2 separate regions of the Homo sapiens genome follow, and region 1 is linked to region 2. Evidence: promoter capture Hi-C in human tissues and cell types (Jung and others, 2019). All regions are on one chromosome and are shown on one strand. Each heading gives the region's core, a stretch centred on a gene start or on the middle of the fragment in contact. The rest is flanking DNA. Distances are from core to core; before and after follow the strand shown. Region 1 has its middle 4.3 kb from the start of PODN. Region 2 holds the start of CPT2 (carnitine palmitoyltransferase 2).

Region 1 (5,609 bases), core at 948-3,447, 140 kb before region 2:
TGAGGTAGGCTGATCACATGAGGCCAAGAGTTCAAGACCAGCCTGGCCAACATGGTGAAACCCCATCTTTACTAAAAATTTAAAAATTAACCGGGTGTGGTGGCGCACGCCTGTAATCCCAGCTACTCGGGAGGCTGAGGCATGAGAATCTCTTGAGCCAGGAGATCACTGCCACTGCACTCCAGCCTGGGCGACAGAGTGAGACCCTGTCTTAAATAAATAAATAAATAAAAAGTTGCCTGGTGGGTTCTTTCTGCATTAAAATCATTAGTCTTGTTGCTGTACTTTTTCAGATGAATTCACACTCTCGGATTTCTACAATTTTTGTTGGATGTGTAGAGGAAAAATAATGGAAAGCATTGCTAGCATGTCAAGTCCATGTAGAGGTGGGGGTATGACAAAGGAGTCACTGAGGAATTTCAGGTCAAAAAGTCCTGTCTCTGCCTCCTGGAAGCTAAGTTAGGGTAAGGCATTTAAGCCTCACCAGCATTTAGTTTTAGTTTCTGCCTCTGCAAAGGAGGGACACTGTTGAATTTTTTTTTTTTTTTACAGTCAGTCTCATTAGACTGTATACATCTTGAATGCAGTAACTCTGTTACTCATCTCTGTGTCTCTAGTATTAATGCAGTGTCCACCAGAGCAGCATCAATAACTGTTTCTCGGACAAATAAGGGTTAGACAATGATCATTAATGGTATTTTTAAATTGTAAAATACTTTGTGAAAGGGTCAATCACATATAAATATAAGTTCCCTCTGTTTTCCCCACATATGTCATCTTAGAAAAAAAATGAAATTAAATCCTACAATTAACAGCTTTATCTTCTGAAACTTTAGCAGTCTCAGAAAACAGTACATTTGGCTGGGCACAGTGGCTCACACCTGTAATCCCAGCACTTTGGGAGGCTGAGGCGGGCGGATCACCTGAGGTCAGGAGATCGAGTGCATCCTGGCTAACATCGTGAAACCCCGTCTCTACTAAAAATACAAAAAATTCGCCAGGTGTGGTGGCACGTGCCTGTAGTCCCAGCTACTTGGGAGGCTGAGGCAGGAGAATCACTTGTACCCGGAAGGTGGAGGTTGCAGTGAGCCGAGATCATGCCACTGCACTCCAACTTGGGCAACAGAGCAAGATGCTGTCTGAAAAGAAAGAAAGAAAGAAAATAGTACATTTAGAACAGCCTGGTATAATGGGAAAACTTTGGGGCCCATCAGATGTGAGTTTTGTTTCTACCTTTGGCACTTACACAACTTTGGGACCACCTTGAGCTAATAACAAGGAAAGACTCTGAGACTTTCTCCCTCTGTGAAAAGGGACTCATAATGTCTGCCTTCCTGGTTGTTAGGAAGATGAGCAATTGCAGTTGTAATATGTCAAGCACATAGTAGGTACTGAGTAGATGCTGCAAAATGTTATTTAAGGAATTTTTTAACATGAAATTTATTCATTGGAACATTTTGTGATAATCTTTTTTTTTTTTGAGACAGAGTCTTGCTCTGTCACCCAGGCTGGAGTGCAGTGGTGCAATCACTGCTCACTGCAACCTCCGCCTCCCTGGTTCAAGCAATTCCCCTGCCTCAGCCTCCCAAGTAGCTGGGACTACAGGCGTGCACCACCACACTCAGCTAATTTTTTGTATTTTTTTAGTAGAGATGGGGTTTCACCATGTTGGCCAGGATGTTCTCGATTTCCTGACCTTGTGATCCTCCCACCTTCTGCCTCCCCAAAGTGCTGGGATTACAGGCGTGAGCCACCATGCCTGGCCCATGATAATCATTTGAGTTCACATAATCAGCTGGCTTCAGAATGAGGACAATTTGCTTTTATTAACTGTTTACATCCTTATGTTTTCCTCAAGAACCATTAAAATTTAATGGTCTCTATACTTAAGTGAATGGATATAGAATTATTTAGTTTGACTTTCAGAAGGTTTGCATTTTAGCCGAAGATTTAATTCTAGCTGCCCATGCCATGATTACTTTTTGAACAGAAAGAAGTCACTTGATGTTATTGACTAGGAAAAAAAATGGTAATCAGCCAGATGGTACCTCTGGGCAAATTACTCTGTGGGAGTAAGCTTGTTTAGAAACCACACTGATATGAATTAGGAATGTTGAGTATGGTACTAAACAGCTAATGAGGGGCCTGAAAGATTTATGAGCTATTAGGAACCACAGCCATATCTGGCCAAATTTTAGAGTTTTTCTCAATAGAGAGTTACAAAATCTTCTGGAACAGTCTCGTATTATATCTATCTGGAGACTGCTGCGAACAAACAGCTCTTTAGTTCTTGGTAAGAACAAAGAATATTGGGCCAGATTTCTGGCCCCTAAGAAATGTGGAGTCTGTTCCATTTGGCTGGAAGTTTAGTTTGGTATGGAATTTTAGCCAGACTTCTAGGGGAAATAATTTTTTAAAAATGTAATGAAAGCTTATTGCAAAAAGTCATGTGCATTTGGTCTATCTATTCTATTAATGGTCATTTAAACACTTTGTAAATATTCACAGTACTGTTTCCAGCAGCATGTAGTAAGTGCTTGACCTTTTTGTTTCTGAATTTATGGCCATAAACTTTTATGTAGAACTGGGGGAAATTGTAGTCTGCTGTTTATTTAAATTGCAGATAGTTGTCTAACCAACTACCAAACAGTGATTTTTTTTCTCTCTCTGGAAGTTGTTGTGTGATTCACCTTTTAGAATATGGCACCTTCTGTTGTGTACAGAGCACTCTGTTCAAGATTAGACACTTTATTAGAACAGAAATAGAAAATAACTTGACACGAAGACACAGTAGTATAGGAACAATTGACTAGGCAGGCTGAAAGAAGACTTAAGCTTGGCAAAATGATACCCAAACGCAGGGTGTGATATCAGTTCACGAATATTCGAGAGATGGAAAGACCAAAGAGGGAGAGGAATTATTTTGCTTAGTTATTAGAAGTAAGGGGAAGGAATATAGAAAGAGAAATTTCAGACTGAATACCATTGAATTTCCAGACAATAAAAATCGGTCATGAGTGGACTAGAAGCTCCAACCACAGAGATGCTTCTAGACCCACAAGGCAAAAACAGGGCATTTCATTGTGGGAGATGTACCTTAATAGTGGCTGAAAGATCATCTGAACAGGAGAAAGTGGTATTTCATTGACAGCCGCTCTTGAGGGTTTCTCCGTTTGCAGTTACCAAAATCTTTTTTTCTTCTATATGCTAGAAAGAAGACTTGAGATCTTTTTGCTTACTTGTTTATACCCTGACTGGTTCATAACTTAATTTGGAAGAAACATGACATACCTTTGGAAGAAACAGTCTTCAAAAGAAATGAGAATTCAAAAGCTTCAAGTTTTTGTAGTATGAAAGTAGTCTGAATTTGTTTTTTGTCTTTTTTTCATCCATTTTTATTTAGCTTAAGGTAACAGCTAGTTGGCTGGCTACAGTGTGGGAGACAACTCTCACTGGAGTTGGAACCTGAAGACTGAGTTTGAATTCTGACTCAAGCACTCATTAGCTGGGTCACCTGAGCAAGTTGCATATCCTCCCTGAGCACCCCTTTTCCAAAATAATGGGGCAATAATACCATCATGTTTGCTGTGAAGATCAAGTGAAACAGTGTGTGGGAAAGTGTGTACCAGTTTTAGTTATTCATGTTTGTTTTATTTTCTATTGTTGATGAAACAAATGATCACAAAGTAGTGATCATAAATTTATTATCTAACGGTTCTGTAGCCTAGAAGTCTGGTTGAGTTTGACTGGTTTCTTTGCTCTGGGTCTCACAAGGCTGAAGTCAAAGTATTGCTGCCCTGGGCTCCTATCTAGAGGCTCCAGGGGAGAAGGTGGCTCTGCTCCCACATTCATTCAGATGCTGGCAGAATTCTGTTTCATGCCGCTGTAGGACTGAAGTCCCTGTACCATTCCTGGCAGCCTACGGGTGTTTCACTTTCTAGAGGCTGCCTTATTCCCTAGCTTATGACCCTCTTCATCTTTAAAGCTAGTCAAGTCCTTCTGATGTTTCAAATCTCTCTGACCTCCTCTTCTGCTTCATCTTCTCTCTCTCCAGCTAGAGAAAGTTCTCTGTTTTTTAGGGCTCATGTGATTAGGCCCACCAGGGTAATCCAGAATATGCTCCCTATTTTGAAGTCCGTAACCTTAGTTACATCTGCAAAGTCACTTTCATCATGTAACATATCCAAAGGTTTTAGGGATTAAGGTGTGGATATCTTTGGGGCGGGGTTGGGGGGTATTCTGCCTATCACAGTGGTATTTTAGGGTGAGAGAGGAGAGCTTGCAGAACATGAGATTCTTGCCCTGGAGGACTCACAATCCAGTGGGAGAAAGAGGAAAAACAGCAAGAAAGTTCCAATAATAAAGAGTCTGTATGAGATGTTATAGCAGCCCAGGAGACTCCTTGTGTACTTGACTTGGACTGAAGATTTTTCATTATTCTCTTCTTGTTCCCTGGAGAGTCTTGCCTTCATCAAGGTCCTTCAGATGGAATTCATATACCCCAAACACCACCATGTGATTTGATTCCTTAAATGTCCAGAAAATCAAGCTGCTGCCATAGCTATTTGGGACTCTACTGCTTAATAAGATCTCAGCCCTCAGCTCAAAGTAGGAGGAATTATTTTCTTCTTTGATGATGAGGCATAACAAGAGCTCATTGTTCCTCATCTCCTGTTTCTCATCATCAAACCCCACTGAGAGCCTTCTTGTTCTTTACTCCTAGCTCTCTCTACCGTATCAATGTATGTCTTTCCTCCCTCCTCTTTGGAGTGTTCTTGTTTCTTATTGTTTTGAATTAGAAGGCACTTTCCCTGGGCAGTACAGAGGTTACTGTTTAATTCTTGCCACTTGTCATTTCTATTTTAATAATGTTTCCTGGCTATTTGGTCAGGTCTGGGTGATAGTTTTGCAGTAATAGCTACCATTTACTGAGCACTTACCATGTGACAGGTACTATGTAAAGTTCTGTACTTGCATTCTCCAATTTAGACATACTGTGAAGTGTAGGTACTATTTTTATATTCATTTGAACCTAGCTAGGATTTGAACCCAGCTCCAAGCTTAAAGCTTGTACTTGACACTATGTACTTCAGTAATATCAAACAGGAGCTGAAATTGAGGGGCAGCATGAAGGAATTGAAGCAGCACAAGTAGATTCAGGAAACCTCAATTTCAAACTCTGCCTTTACAATCCTTCTGAAAGAGGATTTGCTTCTAGAGCACCAAGGTTGCCTCCATTTTTCCACCAGAGACACTCAAAGTGATTCCTCCTGCAGCTTGTATCTATAGTAGCAGCCAACCACAAAGCACACATGGGCATTTGCTCAGCATTCCATAGAAAAGCCTATTTCTCTGGGAGGTGGTGGGTACTGGGTGTGTGGTGTGCCGTGTAGCGGGCCCCTGAAACACCTTGGCCTTAGCAGTTATAAGTATAGAGAATATCTTCCCCACAGGGCTAGGATGATTAAGATATTTTAAGGATTTAGGATGGTGCCTGTCATTTATTAGGCACTCAATATGTGCTGGCTCTCATTGTCCTAAAAGATTTTTAGTCCATGAGTATTCAAGCTAGTAGAATCCTGTCCTTTTAGCTCTACTTGAATCTAGGC
Region 2 (5,927 bases), core at 1,556-4,055:
CCTGACATTTCTTTGAATATTTGGGTGGTCACATTTGTTTTCTTTGGTCATACTTACCCAACTGGACCTCTTTTTTGTTGAAATGTGAACTCTACTGCTAGCCAGTTAAAGTTCATTGTTTTTCAGAACTTTGATTTTGAAGATGAATATGACTTTAACCTGGCCATCATGTACTGCTTTTTCATAGTTAATTCAAAACAGAGCAGAACTCTGGGGATTAGTTCAATAGAAACAATGTATTCTTCAGGATCTTTCTCTAAGTAGAGGAACTTTCTTGACCCTTACACAGCAATATATGGACTTTTTGGACTACCAGCTCATGGTTATTCTTAATGTGATCCAGACCCCAGGGCCATCCCCAGGAAAAGGAAGCAAAGCACCTCCCCACAGTAGGCCTGTGCTAGACACAGTGGACACACAGTGGAAACAAGGTCCCTGCCCAAAGACCTCAAAATTTATTGTGAGAGATGAATTGGTAATTAAATAGCTGATTATTTTAAAAGCCCTAATACAGTTGTGTTTCATGTACATAACTGTAAATGAATGTAAAAAGTGCTGTAAAATCACAGTGGGAGGGATTCATTCTTGCAGTGAGGAAGAAGGATGAGGATTGAGGAAGACTTCAAAGAGGTGAGTTTTGAAATAGGGTTTGAAGGACAAGTAAGAGTTTACTAGGCAGAGATGCATGGAAAGAACATTCCAGGCAGCAGAGACAGCTAAAATAAATAAATAAATAAGTCGCAGAGTAAGGAAAAGGATGGGAATGAGAAGTGGTTCAGTGTTACTACAGCATAGAGCAAGCTTGTCCAACCCACAGCTCAGGATGGCTTTGAATGAGGCCAACACAAATTAGTAAACTTTATTAAAATATGAGATATTTTTACAATTTTGTTTTGTTTTTGCTTATTAGCTATCATTAGTATTAGTGTATTTTATGTGTGGCCCAAGACAATTCTTCTTCCAGTGTGGCTCAGGGAAGTCAAAAGATTGGACACCCCTGGCATAGAGTATTTTGGGGTGACATGATGGGAGCTGGAGAAGTAGGTAGGGGTCAGAATTCAGAAGGCCTTGGACACCAGCCTAAAGGCTTAGAGTTGCTCCCATTGGCCATGCACTCACCAAAGGTGTTCACGTCCCTCTTTTGGCTGTTAGATTGGATGGGCTCAATCTTTTGGCCCTCTGTCTCTAGAATAGAGCCGCTGCTTTTCTACTGGGCCCACTATTTCTTCCTGGTCCTCTGATCCCCTTAGCACTACACAGATCTCGATATTTGCCTCGGGTATCAAGGCTCTGAAAATGATCAGGATTTAGAGGAGATGGCTCATTTTCAGAAAGAGTTTTATATTCTCCCTCTGGCCTTATACACTACAGGCAAATGGCACCGATGTTTTGGAGTTGGGCCAGTTGGGCCTTTTCTCCCCTCAAGAGAGGAGGATTCGATATTCAGTGTTTCTGAATTTCATGCTTAGTTCTTAAGCCATTTCCCATTTGCCCTAAGAAATAAGAGCTGGCAGCAAGCTGCGCTGTTTTTTTCTAAACGGGAAATGGGTTAAGCATTTGTGATCACCACTGAATGAGTGCCAGAGCTGGTTAGTGATCTTCCTGTTCAATCCGAGGTCACCTAACTAGATAACAAAGAGCTGAAACTAAAAGTCCGGTCTCCTGACTCCCAATCCAGTACTCTTTCTGGTGTGCTCCAGCTTCTGGCTCTGCTTAGCCAATTATGGAACAGACAGAATGTACTTGGCTGCCCCAAACGGCTAAAGGGCAGTTCTGTTCCCAAAATGGAATTCTGTTGTGCCTCAAGCTAGGCAGCATAATTGTGTGTCTTTTGGTAACTCCCTGTCTTCTTCTGTAAAATGGGAGTAGAGCCTACTTAATCCTGCAGCTACTTCTAAGATCAGGGATTGGGGCGTGGTGGGCTGTTCTGCAGCTGTTTTGTGATGGATGAGGGATGATAGATCTATGTTCAAGTAGCGGAATCTTAGAGTCAGGAGTTGGAAGGAATCTTGGAGGTGGTCTGTGGTGACAGGAAGCCTCTTCCAATAGACTGAACACGGAAGACTTCCTAGAGCCGGAGGACAAGGGTTTCTTTCCTCTTAGCAGTGAGCTTCTTGTTTTTGGAAATGCTCAAGCCAAGAATGGATGTTCAGGCAGAGGGGATTCCGCTCGGAAGGGGCTTTCTGCACTGAAGTGGTGGCCAGCGGGAAACTCCAGGTTTCCAACTCCTGCACAAATCCTTTCTAATATCCATCCACTCAGGTGAGCTGGCAGGGCAGTAGCTGTGCAGGGTTCAGGGTCATTATATGTCAATGACCTTCAGCACGGATTACTAACAACAGTAACATCCGTTACCGTTTACTGCTTTCCTATTAAGCACCATGCACTGTGCATAACATGTTATCTTTATCTCATATCTAGAATTTTGGGAGGTACTTTGAATCATTACGATCTATCTACTTCTTAGGTGAGGAAATAGAGGTTTAAAATTTAGTCCACAGTCTCGCAAGGATGGAGCCTGGATCAAATTTTGGGTTATCAGATTCCAATCACGTTTCTTAGCTTTTCTTTTTTTTTTCCAACTCCAGTTTCTGTCTTGCTCCAAAAAAGGGGAAGGAGCGGCTGCGGCGCTCGGTTTCCCGCCTCCTAGGGAAGGGAAGGGAGACGAGCAGCGCGGAGGCTGGGGCCCCCTTCCGGGCGGGGCCTACTAGTGGGCGGGGCCTGTCAGTGAGCGGCCCCTGCCCGGAAGGAGCCAGTCCGGGGCGGAGCCGATGGCCTTACAGGGGCCGGAAGTGGCCTGCGGGCGGAGAAGTGCCTCAGGAGTCCTGACGCAGTGTCTTGGGCGCTAACGGCGGCGGCGGCCTTGTGTTTAGACTCCAGAACTCCCCACTTGCCGCGTTCTCGCCGCCGCAGGCTCCCGGGACGATGGTGCCCCGCCTGCTGCTGCGCGCCTGGCCCCGGGGCCCCGCGGTTGGTCCGGGAGCCCCCAGTCGGCCCCTCAGCGCCGGCTCCGGGCCCGGCCAGTACCTGCAGCGCAGCATCGTGCCCACCATGCACTACCAGGACAGCCTGCCCAGGTGAGCCTGGCCTCCGGGTCCCCGCCGCCCGCCGCCGTCCCAGGATCGGCCCCAACCTGACTGCAGTCACTCATGACTCCTCTAGTGAACCCGTTTCCGCCCCCAAGCCCCTACCATGGAGGCTGCCACAGCCCCTAATCTGGAAGTCTTGGGACTTTTCACAATCTCCTAGCACAGGAACCTCAGAACCCTCAAATTCTCTTCCAGAACCCCTCGATGCTATCTCAGATTCTCCATCTTGAACGCTTCTCAGATTCCCTCTCCTTTAACCTAACTTCCAGCCAGCTATCCTGAGTCCTCTTCTCCCTGAAAAATGCCAGACCTGCATATTTCCAGCGCCGCTGTAATCCCTCGACTATGGTGTCTCCTGAAGTACTTTAATGACTGCCTCACATTCCTACCCGGAATATGGGTAGGCTGATTCCTAATACATCATGGTTACCATTCCTTAACTTCTCCCAGCACCGCCTTCACCCCTGTCACTCAGGACCCTCAGCCCCACCTCCCATTTCTCCAGTACTCTGTTCTTTCACCCCCCATGAGCCCCCACAAGCACAGCCCTGAAGTGTTCACCCTTGTCCTCAACTGACCCTCCCCCATGTTTTTAAATCTTTAATCTCCTAAATCCAGTGTTCACCCGGAAACCTTTCACTCTCTCCAAGCCCTCCTCAACAGGTTCCTCCCCTCAAAATATCCTTCCTCACCCACAGTACCCCTTGTAAGTGCAGCTCACCCTCACAGAATTCTAGACACCACCCTCAGTACCCCATCCACACTCCATCATACTCAGATCCAGGGTCCACCCAAATTTCTCTTCTCCTCCTCACCACTGGCTACCCTGCCTTCGAAACACTTCACCCAGAATCGACTTCCCCTCTGAAAAGAGCCCTAGTAAATCCTCTTCCCCTTCCCTCCCCCAGTACTTTCTTAAATCCAGCTTCCAGTTCTTCCAGCCTTCGAACTCCGCTTTCGTCTGAGTTGCCAGATCTCCTTCTTCAATATTAGAAATTTTCTTCACCCTCTAAACCAAACCTAAACTAACTTCTAACTTACTGAGTGAGTAACTCAGTTCCTGGAGCCAAGTTCAAAATTTGTCTCAAAGACCCTTCTCACCTTATTTCTCACCAAACTGCCCTCAGGGATTCCCCACACTCCAAGAGCTAGAGGCCAGGCTTCTTCCCCATGTGTGGAACATTGTGTCACAGGCCTCACCCGAGCTGCTGGGTTGTTTTTCTCTGCATCTGGGACCACTTAACCCAACGTCATCACTACATACCCTCACCCTCTCAGGAGGATCGAGTGATTCTTGTGAAATTACATTTTGTGCAAACATCTAAGACATGAAAATGAGATTATCTACACGTGGCAGGAGGGAGGAAGAAAAAGGGGCTTTGTGCCTGTGGCATAAGCCTGGTACATGCTTCCACCCTGTCAACCTGTGTGTATGAGCTGAGCCAGTATATGGGTGAAAGGTGAGGACTGACAGAACCTGTCTTCACTTGCCAAGTTCAGAGTCAGATGGTCACTGACTTTCAGGCAGGCCTGGGCCCCACCCAGGTTTAAGATCAGAGGGATTTTCTGCACTTTAGAATTGGAAAGCTGGAAAGAATATTCAAGATTATTTATTCCAACCCCATCCATAGCACAGTCTGTAGGAATCTGGAGGTACCAATTCAAACTCCAGTTCAAATAGTACCACTAGTCACCTACGCATAACCTTAAGCAACCAACCTCCCCCAGACCTCCATTACCTTATTTGTAAATTGGGAGTTAGATGAGAGATGAGATTCCTTCTGTCGCTCAGATTCTAGACTGGTAAAATGTATAATCTTTCACACTCACTCATTGATGTCACACTTGGTGAAAAGCCCTGACTTTGAGGTCTGGTAGAATGTAGTTGCAGATTCTGGATCTGCAAGTCTTTAGCTATAATTTGGGGCAATTCTGTTCACTTCATTGAGCCACAGTTTTATTTTGGTTTTTTTGAGACAGTCTCGCTCTGTTGCCCAGGCTGGAGTGCAGTGGCCCTATCTCGGCTCACTGCAACTTCTGCCTCCCGGGTTCAAAGGATCCTCCCGCCTCAGCCTCCCAAGTAGCTGGGATTACAAGCATGTGCCACCACACCCAGCTAATTTTTGTATTTTTAGTAGAGATGGAGTTTCACCATGTTGGCCAGGCTGGTCTCAATCTCCTGACCTCAAGTGATCTGCTCTTGGCCTCCCATCTGGGACCACAGGCATGCACCATCATGCCTGGCTGATTTTTTGTATCTTTTATAGAGACAGGGTTTCGCCATGTTGCCCAGGCTGGTCTTGAACTCCTGGACTCGAGCAATCTGCCTGCCTCGGCCTCCCAAAGTGCTGGGATTACAGGTGTGAACCACCGTGCCCAGCTTCACTCCAGAAATTTTTAAGTAGGACTTTTTTAAATCAAATTGCCATTGTCTCTAATCTAGAATTTTGTTTAAAAGGAAGAAGGTAAACTTTCATGAATATTCCTACTGTAATAAAACTAAATCTTAAACATATGTAGGCAACTGGAATTATGAGGTAGCTGAGATAGTATTTGGAATTTTTCTGAGTAAGTCAGTGAATGTAAGGGGATCTGTGGTGTTAAAGTGTTGTAAATGGGTACTTAGTGCAGTCTAAGTCCATAATGGCAGTAAATAATTGATTTATTTTTGTCATATTATGGATAAACATGCATTACAAATAAACTGATGAACCACAGTATATCTTATATTAGGCTTTTAAACTGCTTTATGTATCATGTTTCAGTTTTCCTAAATGACTGATACATTTCAGTATTTTGCATATCAGTGTTAATTTTGAGTTGGTAGAGGCAGCCTAA

The links. Contacts are between HindIII fragments. The study calls those that stand out against the background at their distance.
Region 1: a contact is called between a fragment that was not itself captured here and the fragment with the promoter of CPT2 in region 2, in 1 of the 25 tissues and cell types used here (hippocampus).

Annotation. Positions count from the first base shown.
Region 1 is chr1:53,055,120-53,060,728 of GRCh38, forward strand. No RefSeq gene overlaps it. Among named protein-coding and RNA genes, the nearest start is that of PODN, 4.3 kb to the right of the region's middle. The HindIII fragment of the contact is 3,998 bases long and covers 199-4,196 here.
Region 2 is chr1:53,194,019-53,199,945 of GRCh38, forward strand. CPT2 (carnitine palmitoyltransferase 2) reads left to right here and starts at 2,806. Exons shown (of 5, transcript NM_000098.3): 1 at 2,806-3,077. The coding sequence starts at 2,926. RefSeq lists a silencer at 2,790-3,149. The HindIII fragment of the contact is 8,890 bases long and covers 1-5,927 here.